Linked DNA regions of Homo sapiens: region 2 is linked to region 1. Evidence: promoter capture Hi-C in human tissues and cell types (Jung and others, 2019). All regions are on one chromosome and are shown on one strand. Each heading gives the region's core, a stretch centred on a gene start or on the middle of the fragment in contact. The rest is flanking DNA. Distances are from core to core; before and after follow the strand shown.

What was found. Contacts are between HindIII fragments. The study calls those that stand out against the background at their distance.
Region 2: a fragment that was not itself captured here is called in contact with the fragment with the promoter of FUT6 in region 1 in 1 of the 25 tissues and cell types used here (pancreas).

Annotation. Positions count from the first base shown.
Region 1 is chr19:5,837,427-5,842,224 of GRCh38, forward strand. It overlaps FUT6 (fucosyltransferase 6), which reads right to left and starts at 2,276. Exons shown (of 3, transcript NM_000150.4): 1 at 1,251-2,276. The HindIII fragment of the contact is 16,612 bases long and covers 1-4,798 here.
Region 2 is chr19:6,009,961-6,014,758 of GRCh38, forward strand. It overlaps RFX2 (regulatory factor X2), which reads right to left. Exons shown (of 18, transcript NM_000635.4): 8 at 3,026-3,145; 9 at 176-291. It overlaps RANBP3-DT (RANBP3 divergent transcript), which reads left to right. Exons shown (of 4, transcript NR_046376.1): 2 at 2,160-2,264. Among named protein-coding and RNA genes, the nearest start is that of RANBP3-DT, 34 kb to the left of the region's middle. The HindIII fragment of the contact is 6,319 bases long and covers 1-4,798 here.

The sequences.
Region 1 (4,798 bases), core at 1,026-3,525:
TGCCAAGATTTAGGATGAAAAACAGAATGTCAGATATCTCAATAAAACTTTTTAAAGGCCAGGCACGGTGGCTCATGCCTGTAGTCCCAGCACTTTGAGAGGTGGAGGCGGGCGAATCACCTGAGGTCAGGAGTTAGAGACTGTCCTGACCAACATGGTGAAACCCCGTCTCTACTAAAAATACAAAAAATTAGCCAGGCGCGGTGGCGGGCACCTGTAGTCCCAGCTACTCGGGAGGCTGAGGCAGGAAAATGGTGTGAACCCGGGAGGCGGAGCTTGCAGTGAGCCAAGGTCGCGCCACTGCACTCCAGCCTGGGCAACAGAGCGAGACTCTGTCTCAAAAAAATAAAATAAAATAAAATAAAATAAATAAACTGAGTTGGTCTAAACCTTATGGTGCATAGCGGAGCTCCAGGCATGGTGACCTAGGTGTGATGAGAAGGGATTGAGAGCACAAGCGCATACCAAAGTTCTGGAAAAAGACTCAAGAGACAGCCCTCGAGGGACACTCAGAGCCCGGACTGGGAGGGAGGTTGAATTTTAACCAAGTATTCCTTTGTGCTGTCGGGCTCTTGGGCTGCCAGTGAAAGGTTAATGTTTAGAGATACATTTAATATTAATATATTATCATGTGGCCCCTGGGTTTATGGCGACCTCTTCCTAGGAGACAGTGAAGTCTTTGCCGGTGACCTTCAGGAGGGGAGATTGGGGGAAACGGGGAACGGGAGTCCAGGAGAGAGATCTCACCCAAGGTACTTTCCCTGGAAAATGATCGATCCACGCCACAAAGATCAGGATGCAAAAAAACAAAGCCAGAAAGCAAACCGCATTCTAAGCCCTCTTTTACCACCGGGAGTGGCAGAGGCAGAGAAAATCCGGGGCCAGGAAGGATGAAGGGGTGTAGGCTGCTGATGGGGTCGGGGGGCACGGGATTCTACCGCAGAGCTCTGCAAGAGAGACAGACAGACACCCACTTCCTCCTGGTTTGGCAAATCAGCCAGACCTCCCATATCCTCAGCCCACCTCGGTGCATCCAGAAAGACCCCTGCCTGCGACTAGGGGCTGCTGGCCAAATGCCAGGCCACTGCACAGCCTGCAGACCCTCCCCCAGGGATCTTGTGCCAGCCCACCCGCACTCTGAATTACAGCAGACAGGACTGAGGCTGAGGGGAGGAGGCTCGGAGCCAGGAGGCCTTTCCCTGGACCCATGCGATCCGGGTTGGGGGTGAAAGTGGGACAAGAGGCCTTACCTGGGGGGGCCAGTGTGCAGAGGGCCCTAGAGCTGAGAGGCCGCGGACGGAGTAACAGCTGGATTCTGAGGACGTGGAAGAGGCCACACCACGCAGCAGAAGGAAGGAGGAAGTGTACCCGGAGCTGAAACCAGGCCCTTTCCAACCACCACACCTGTCATCAGGTGACCCAGGGCATCCTGTCCTGGAGCCCGGACATCCTTTGAAAACAAATCGTGGGGCTCCCCTAATCCCCGTTGCAGAACCAAACAGGGTGAAGGGATTTGGAGACTCAGGTCATGCATGACCTTGCCCCACCTGTGGCTTCAATGCGATGTGGCTTTGAGTACAAAGTGAAAAGGCTGACCTGAACCACCGGTTCCCAAAGCGGGTTCCACAGGGACACCAGGGGTTCCTTGGGAGGTGGGAATGAGGAAGTGAGCAGAATTTCTACCTTTCCGCTTTCCTTCCCACCAGATCCCACCTTCTCACTCAGTTGGCCCATCACCAAATATTTCCTGAGCACTAAGTGCCAGGCCAAGGGATCTTGCAGGAAACCGGTGGGCAAGTCAGGCAACTCATGAACCTTGGAAGGGAACTTTCTTCAATTAAAATTGCAGCCTTTTGAATAAAAAAGGGATGGAAGGGCATTCCAGTTACAAGGAACAACCTTCGCAAAGGCCCTGAGGCAGCAGAAATGCAGGCATGTTGAGGAACTGCAGGAGGAGTCTCAGCAGGCTGGGTCTTCACCACTGGAGAGGAGGCAGAGCTGTTGCAGAGGCTGGGCCACGGTCAGCCATAGGGTGTTCAGCACCAAGGCAATAGGGAGCCATGTGAGGCTTCAAGCAGAGGGGTTACCATGTCGATACATGTTTTCAGATGCTCTCTTCTGGTAGGCTGGGCACAGGTCCCATATTGGTGGCAGAAGCTTCCTCCGGTGGCCTCAACAAGCCCCTCTGTGTGCCTCAAAGCCACTTCCTTTCCCCACCCACTCCTGCAGGGCAGTGCAAAGCAGAAGTCCAGGGAGCTATGCAAACTTCCTGGAATGGAGAGAAATGATCTGGAATACTGGTTTTGAGGGAGGATGACCTTAAACTCTCTCACTCCCAAGCTGGGTGCAAAGGTGACCGAGCTCAAAGCCCAGCCTCCAAGTATCACGACTGCCCTGTTCTAGAAATCATTTCTGGGAGGCTGCATCATGCTGCCTGAGTTCTACTATCTCAGTGCCCAGCCACGCCCAGACCAGTGAGGTTCTGGGAGGTAGGGATGGGCCAGGGGGTTGGGGTCTCCCAGAGCTCCAGAAGTGGCAACCTAATTCCACTCATGTCTCATTCCTTGACTGGTGAGGTTGACTGTAACTTATTAAAAAAATGACTTCTGGGGGCCGGGCGTGGTGGCTCACGCCTGTAATCCCAACACTTTGGGAGGCCGAGGTGGGCAGATCACGAGATCAGAAGATCAAGACCATCCATCCTGACTAACATGGTGAAACCCTGTCTCTACTAAAAATACAAAAAAATTAGCCAGGCGTGGTAGTGGGTGCCTGTAGTCCCAGCTACTTGGGAGGCTGAGGCAGGAGAATGGTGTGAACCCGGGAGGCGGAGCTTGCAGTGAGCCTAGATTGAGCCACTGCACTCCAGCCTGGGCGACAGTGCAAGACTCTGTCTCAAAAAAAAAAAAAAAAAAAAAAAAGACTTCTGAGGCCATGCACAGTGACTCACACCTGTAATCCCAACAGTTTGGGAAGGAGAGGCAGGAAGATCGCTTGAGCCCAGGAGTCTGAGACCAGCCTAGGGAAAACAGAGATACCCCTATCTCTCTCTTTTTTTTGAGATGGAATCTTGCTCTGTCACTCGGGCTGGAGTGCAGTGGCACAGTCTCAGTTTACTGTAACCTATGCCTCCCGGGCTCAAGCGATTCTCATGCCCCAGCCTCCCGAGTAGCTGGGACTACAGGCGCGTGACACGGCACTGGGTAACTTTCGTATTTTTTTAATAGAGCTGGTTTTCGCCATGTTAGCCAGGCTGATCTTGACCTCCTGACTTCAGGTGATCTGTCTGCCTCAGCCTCCTAAAGTACTGGGATTAGAGGCCAGGCATGAGCCACTCCGCCCAGCTGGGTTTTTTTTCTTTTTTTTTTTTGAGACAGAGTCTCGCTCTGTGGCCCAGGCTGGAGTGCAGTGGCACGATCTCGGCTCATGGCAAGCTCTGCCTCCTGGGTTCACGCCATTCTCCTGCCCCAAGTAGCTGGGACTACAGGCGTCCGCCATCACGCCCAGCTAATTTTTTTTTTTTTTTTTGTATTTTTAGTAGAGACATGTTAGCCAGGATGGTCTCGATCTCCTGACCTTGTGATCCGCCCGCCTCGGCCTCCCAAAGTGCTGGGATTACAGGCGTGAGCCACCACGCCCCGCCCCCAGCTGGGTTGTTTCTTAAGGATTCAAAATCCAAAGGTAGGTCTCTAGTGAGGGACAGTAGGGCTCTAGTCATTCCATCGATGTGATCGCTGGGCAAAGGGAGGGTGGAGGACCTTGGGCTGACCTCAGGGATGGTGCCAGAGAGAACGTGTGCTCATCCTGAAACTGCTGTGTGACTTGAGAGGTTTCCTGGTCCTCTCTGAGCAGGGCTCACCATACCAGTGCCAGGTGGGACCTCCCTGCCAAGGAGCTGAGCCCAGAGCCCAGAGTAGGGTATCATGAGGACCTCTTCCCTCAGGCTCAGGGCAAGCTAGGACCTGCTTGAGGCTTGCAGGGGCAGTTAGGCCATCTGTGCACCTCGTTGGGGTCTTGGCCCTCATTGGACCCTCCAGTGCCTTCCCTGGCCAGGGCTGGGTGGGAGATGGAGCTGCCAGCCTGCTGGAAATTTTTCTCCCCCTGGGGCCCAGGGCTGGGAGCCAAGGGCAGCTGGTGCCCAGGAGGAGGGAGAAGGCCCCACGGGCTGGGCGTGCCATGAACCACATGTGAGATCCGGGGCATACAGGGAGGCAATGGGGGTTTGAGGGCAGTGCTGGGGTTCCAGAGGGGGCAGGCCAGAGCCCCCCAACATCGGCCAGGTGGCTGGGCCTCTGCCCTCGTGGGACCCAGGGAGGGTTTCCATGTCCCTCTAAGCCTCAGAGGAAATTCCAGAGGCAGAGAAAGAGAAGTTGGGAAAGGGAGCTCTTCACTCTGACATCAGCTGAGGTAGAGGCGGAGACCACAGGGGCTCCAGGGGCGTCAGAGGACAGAGCAGCCTGTCCCCACACCTCTTACCCCCTGGGGACTGGGCCTGCCCCAGCCTGTTAGGAAGCCCTGGCCTGGCCTGCCGAGGGCCCCGTCCCCCTCCCAGGACCCGTGGCTTGCAGCCAGGTGGTGGGGAGAGGGGCCCAGGTGTGTGGTGTGGGTGGCAGGTGAGTGATGGGCCCAGCAAGGCTGGCTCAGGCCCGGGGTCACCAGAGGGTTTGGTAGAGACTCTTCAGGCCCCCCACACCCTCCCCACCCTATGCCCCTCCACCCTCCCACCTGGGCCTCAGGGAGGCATCACAGGCACCTCTGCACCTCCACTGTACAGATGGGGAAACTGAGGCTCAGAGAG
Region 2 (4,798 bases), core at 1,670-4,169, 170 kb after region 1:
CTCAGGGATGTCAGAAAGAAGGTTTATCGAAAACTTTCTATTTGTCCGAAAAGGTGTCTCGTAAGAAAACTGTCGGAAGCAGACGCTTAGACACCACTGGTTCTGCTGGTGTTGAAACCCAGGAGTGTGGCGAGCAGATGGGAGCCCCGCCCCCGGGCCTGACCGGGCCTCTCACCTATGTACTGCTGGTGGTGCTGGCTCTGCACGGCCATGGTCTGTTCCGGAGTGCTGTGCAGGCCGCTGTGGGAGCCGCTGTCCCCGAGGCTGTCCGTCTTCTGGGCTGGCCGGTACCTAGGCCAGGAACACGCATACCATCATGAGGCCCAGCAGCCCTGCTGCGGGTGGGCCCAAAGACTGGGGGGCTGGGCAGGATTCAGTCAGGCATGTGTGTGTGATGTTTACAAGTTGCGGTCAAATACACATAACACAAAAGCTACCATCGGAACCATCTTGAGTGCACAGCTCAGCAGCATTAAGCACATTCACTGGTTGTGCAACCCTCACCGTCGTCATCTCCAGAACTTGATCATCTTCCCACACTGAAGCTCTGTCTCCATAAAACGCTCACTCCCCATCCCTGTCCCCAGCCCCTGGCACCCCTGATCTGACTTCCCGTCTCTGTGAATCTGACGACTCTAGGGACCTCCTAGGAGTGGGGTCACACAGGATTTGTCCTTTTGCAACTGGTCTCTCTCACTGAGCGTTATGTCCTCAAGGTCCACCGAGTTGTAGCCTGTGTTGGAATTTCCTCCTTTTTAAGGCTGAATAATATTCCATCATATGGATGAACCACAGTTTGTTAATGGACACTTGAGAAAATAGATATATATTTTCCCCCTAACATTTCTCTCTTAGAAAAAAAAGTGAAATTCTTGGCCGGGCGCAGGGGCTCACGCCTGTAATCCCAGTGCTTTGGGAGGCCGAGGCAGGTGGATCATCTGAGGTCGGGAGTTCGAGACCAGCCTGACCAACATGGAGTAACCCCGTCTCTACTAAAAATACAAAATTAGCTGGGCGTGGTGGCGCATGCCTTTAATCCCAGCGACTCAGGAGGCTGAGGCAGGAGAATCACTTGAACCTGGGAGGCAGAGGTTGCAGTGAGCCGAGTTCACGCCATTGCACTCCAGCCTGGGCGACAAAAGCGAAACTCGGTCTCAAAAAAAATAAATAAATTAATTAAAATAAAATAAAATAAAATAAAATAAAAGGGAGATTCTTTGCGTGAATCACAAACATCTTATTATTGGTGCAATCTTAGAAGTTCTGAGACTTTCATTTTGAGCCAGATGGTGGTGGCCAGCCTGTGCAGGCAGTGCTGAGAAACACTCAGCACTTTCCAGGCGCTGGACTCCTCAGGGCCCGGTGTGTGGTGTGGTGGGGGCAGGGAGGGAGCCGGCTTGAGCTGGAGCATCTCCAGCGGACCTCCCTCCTCAAATACGAAGCGGGGCCAGGCCTACAGGGAGGCGGGAGACCATGCTGGCGAGGTGTGTGTAAACCACCTGGCTCAGGGCAGGCCGTGGGCATCACACAGACACAGGCTCAGGCTGTGGCTTCCAAATGCAAATGGCATCAGCCTGTCCCCCTGAAATGTGTGTCGCTGCTCCTAAAATGACACACTGCCTGGAGCACAGGTTCACAGCTGTCTGCCAGGGGCCCAAATTGAACAACAGCAGTGAGCTCCAGAGTCCATGTCTGCAGACAACGAGGTACAGAAGGAATGCTCTGGAAACTCTCTCCTGGAACCTCCAACTCCTGGGAGTGGCTGTGTGGTCAGGAGTCAATGGGTTACGCAGAGCAGCTGGAATGGGTTTTTGAGCCACACACATACACGGGTGGCTCTGTGCAGAGGGTCCAGCACCAGGTGTAAAGGTGCCACGTGGGGCTATTGCAATGTGGCCCCTGCCCTCAGGGGGGGCACTTGTGGAGGCACACTGGGAGGCAGTGATATTTGAATGGGCCCTAAACCAGGGGCCAGCAAACTATGGCCTGAGGGCCAATTCTGCTGTTTGTTTTTATAAATAAAGTTTTACTGGCACACAGCCATGCCCATCATCCTCATGCTGTCTGTGGCTGCTTTCAGGATGTAGCCAAATTGAACAGTCATGACAGAGACTGTCTGGCCTGCAAGGCTAAGATATTTGCTCTCTGGCTCTTTACAGGAAAGGTTTGCTGGCTCCTGCCTTAGAAGATGAGAAAGTTTGTGATGGATGGAGAAGAGGATCTTCCAGAAAATAACCAGGGCTTTCCAGCCACTGGATCCAAAGGTGAAGAAGAAGTCGTGACTTGAGCACATCTGCTTCTTTCTCCTGGCTTCTTGGGTTATTTGCAGTGTCCTCTCTCTCTTTACTTCCTAAGCTTTAAAAATTAAAGGTCTGTGATTCCAACTATATGACACTGGGGAACGGGGAAACTGTGGGGATGGCAGAAGGATTAGAGGTTGCTGCAGACTGGGGTGGGGAGGGAAAGCTGGGTAGGCAGAACATGGAGGATGTGTAGGACTGTGAAAGGACTCTGCGTGACACTGTGATGGGGGACACATGTCATTATAGGTTTGTCCAAACTGTCGAATGTACAACACCAAGAGTGAGCCCTGATGTTGACTGTGGACTCTGGGGGGTGATGCTGGCTCCGCGGAGGGTCACGGGTCATGAGCAATGCACCGCTGTGTGGGGGAGGTGAATGGTGGGAGAGGCGGTGGGGAGCGGGGCTGGGGGTGTAGAACAACTCTCTGTACTTTCTACTCAATTTTGCTGTGAACCTAGAATGGCTCTAAAAAATGAAGTCTGTTAAAAACAGTTTTAAACGGTTTTAAAAAAAGTCTGAAAAGTTAGCTGGAGGAGGTTGCATCCCAGCCTCCTGTGTCTCCTGCTAGACTCACCTCAGTCTCAGCAGAGGGGGATACCTTGGCTTTCCCAGGATGCTGGAGACTGGGGAGTTATGATGAGTTTGTTTCGTGTTGGAGAAACACCCACCCCTCCATGCTCCAGGGGAGAGCCAGCTCCTCCCAGCTCGGCCCGGCACCCACCTGGGCTTCTGGTGCATGGGCTGCTGCCGCATGGCCATGTACTGCGTGTCCTCCTGCAGCCGGTTCAGTGGTGAGTCCGGCTTCAGACGAATCCCATAGTAATGGTACTTCGAGTTGCCCCTGGAAACCAAACATCCCAGGGTCAGCTCCCTTTGCAGATGTCCTGAACAACAAGACAGGTTGGGATTCTTTTTCTTTCTTTCTTCTTTTTTTTTTTTGAGACAGAATCTCATTCTGTCGCCCAGGCTGGAGTACAGCAGTGCCATCTCGGCTCACTGCAATCTCCGCCTCCCGGGTTTAAGAGATTCTCCTGCCTCAGCCTCCCAAGTAGCTGGGATGACAGGCGTGAGCCATAATGCCTAGCTTATTTTTGTATTTTTAGTGGAGACGGGGTTTTGCCATGTTGGCCAGGCTGGTCTCAAACTCCTGGGCTCAAGTGATCCTCCTGCCTTGGCCTCCCAAAGTGCTGGGATTACAGGCGTGAGCCACTGCGCCTGGCCTCTTCTCTCTTTTTTTTTTTTTTCAGAAACAGGGTCTCACTCTGTCACCCAGGCTGGAGTGCAGTTGTGCAATCACAGCTCACTATCAGGAGGTCACTACCAGGAGGTCACTATCACTTGACCTCCTGGGATCAAGTGATCCTCCTGCCTCAGCCTCTGAGTAGCTGGGACAGCTGGCGTGTGCCAACACACTCGGATGGTAGAAGTGATCCTCCTGCTGCAGCCTCTGAGTAGCTGACGTGTGCCACCACACTCGGATCTTGACCTTTCACTTTGGCCTCTCTGGTTCAGCATTTCCTGAACTGTGTGAGGAATGTGATCAAGGAATTCTGTACATAATGCCGTTGTCATAGAGAGTCCTCTCTCACAGGCTAGTATAATAAAGGCTCGGACAAGTCCTGTGCTGAGAACACCAGGTCAGCTTTGTTGAGCTCCACATGGCTTATCTCCATTATTATTACCATTATTATTAACAACTCTTCCCCACCCCCTTCAATCATCTAGTAACACGTTTTGGAATAAGGCACTGTTTGGGAACCATTACATTAGTTTATTACGGGAGAATGATGATCAGAGGGCTTTAAACAATTTAGTTCAGAAAACAGCTCACAGAGTCCTTACAGGAGGGAAGCATTAACCCACAGACATGGCTGTGGAGACACCCAGCTCACAGGATGCCATTTCTCCAGAGCTGGCAACAGGGACATGCAGGAAGCACCTGGGTCCTTTCTTTTTCTTTCTTTCTTTTTCTCTTATTATTATATTTTTGAGACAGTCTCACTCTGTTGCCCAGGCTGGAGTGCAGTAGTGCGATCTCGGCTCACTGCAACCTCCCTCTCTCCCAGGTTCAAGAAATTCTCCAGCCTCAGCCTCCCCGATTAGCTGGGATTACAGGTATGTGACACCATGCCTGGCTAATTTTTTTGTATTTTTAGTAGGGACGGGGATTCACCATGTTGGCCAGGCTGATTTTGAACTCCTGACCTCAAGTGATCCTCCTGCCTTGGCCTCCCAATGTGCTAGGATTACAGGCGTGAGCAACCATGCCCGGCCCTTCTTTTCCTTTTTAAATTTCATTGCAATAGCAGACAGCCTGGGCCCTTTCTAGATGAGGTACATGTTTAGCCAGGTGCTCGGAGGAGGGAAAACGGGGGGAAATCAGCCTTAATCCTGAAGCCAGCAGCTGGGATACTCTGCAGGGGAGGCCCCTCCAGGAGCAGGGGCTGTGTCCCCAGAGACCAGGCTTCCCTGTGGCTTCCTCCCGCTTCTGTCC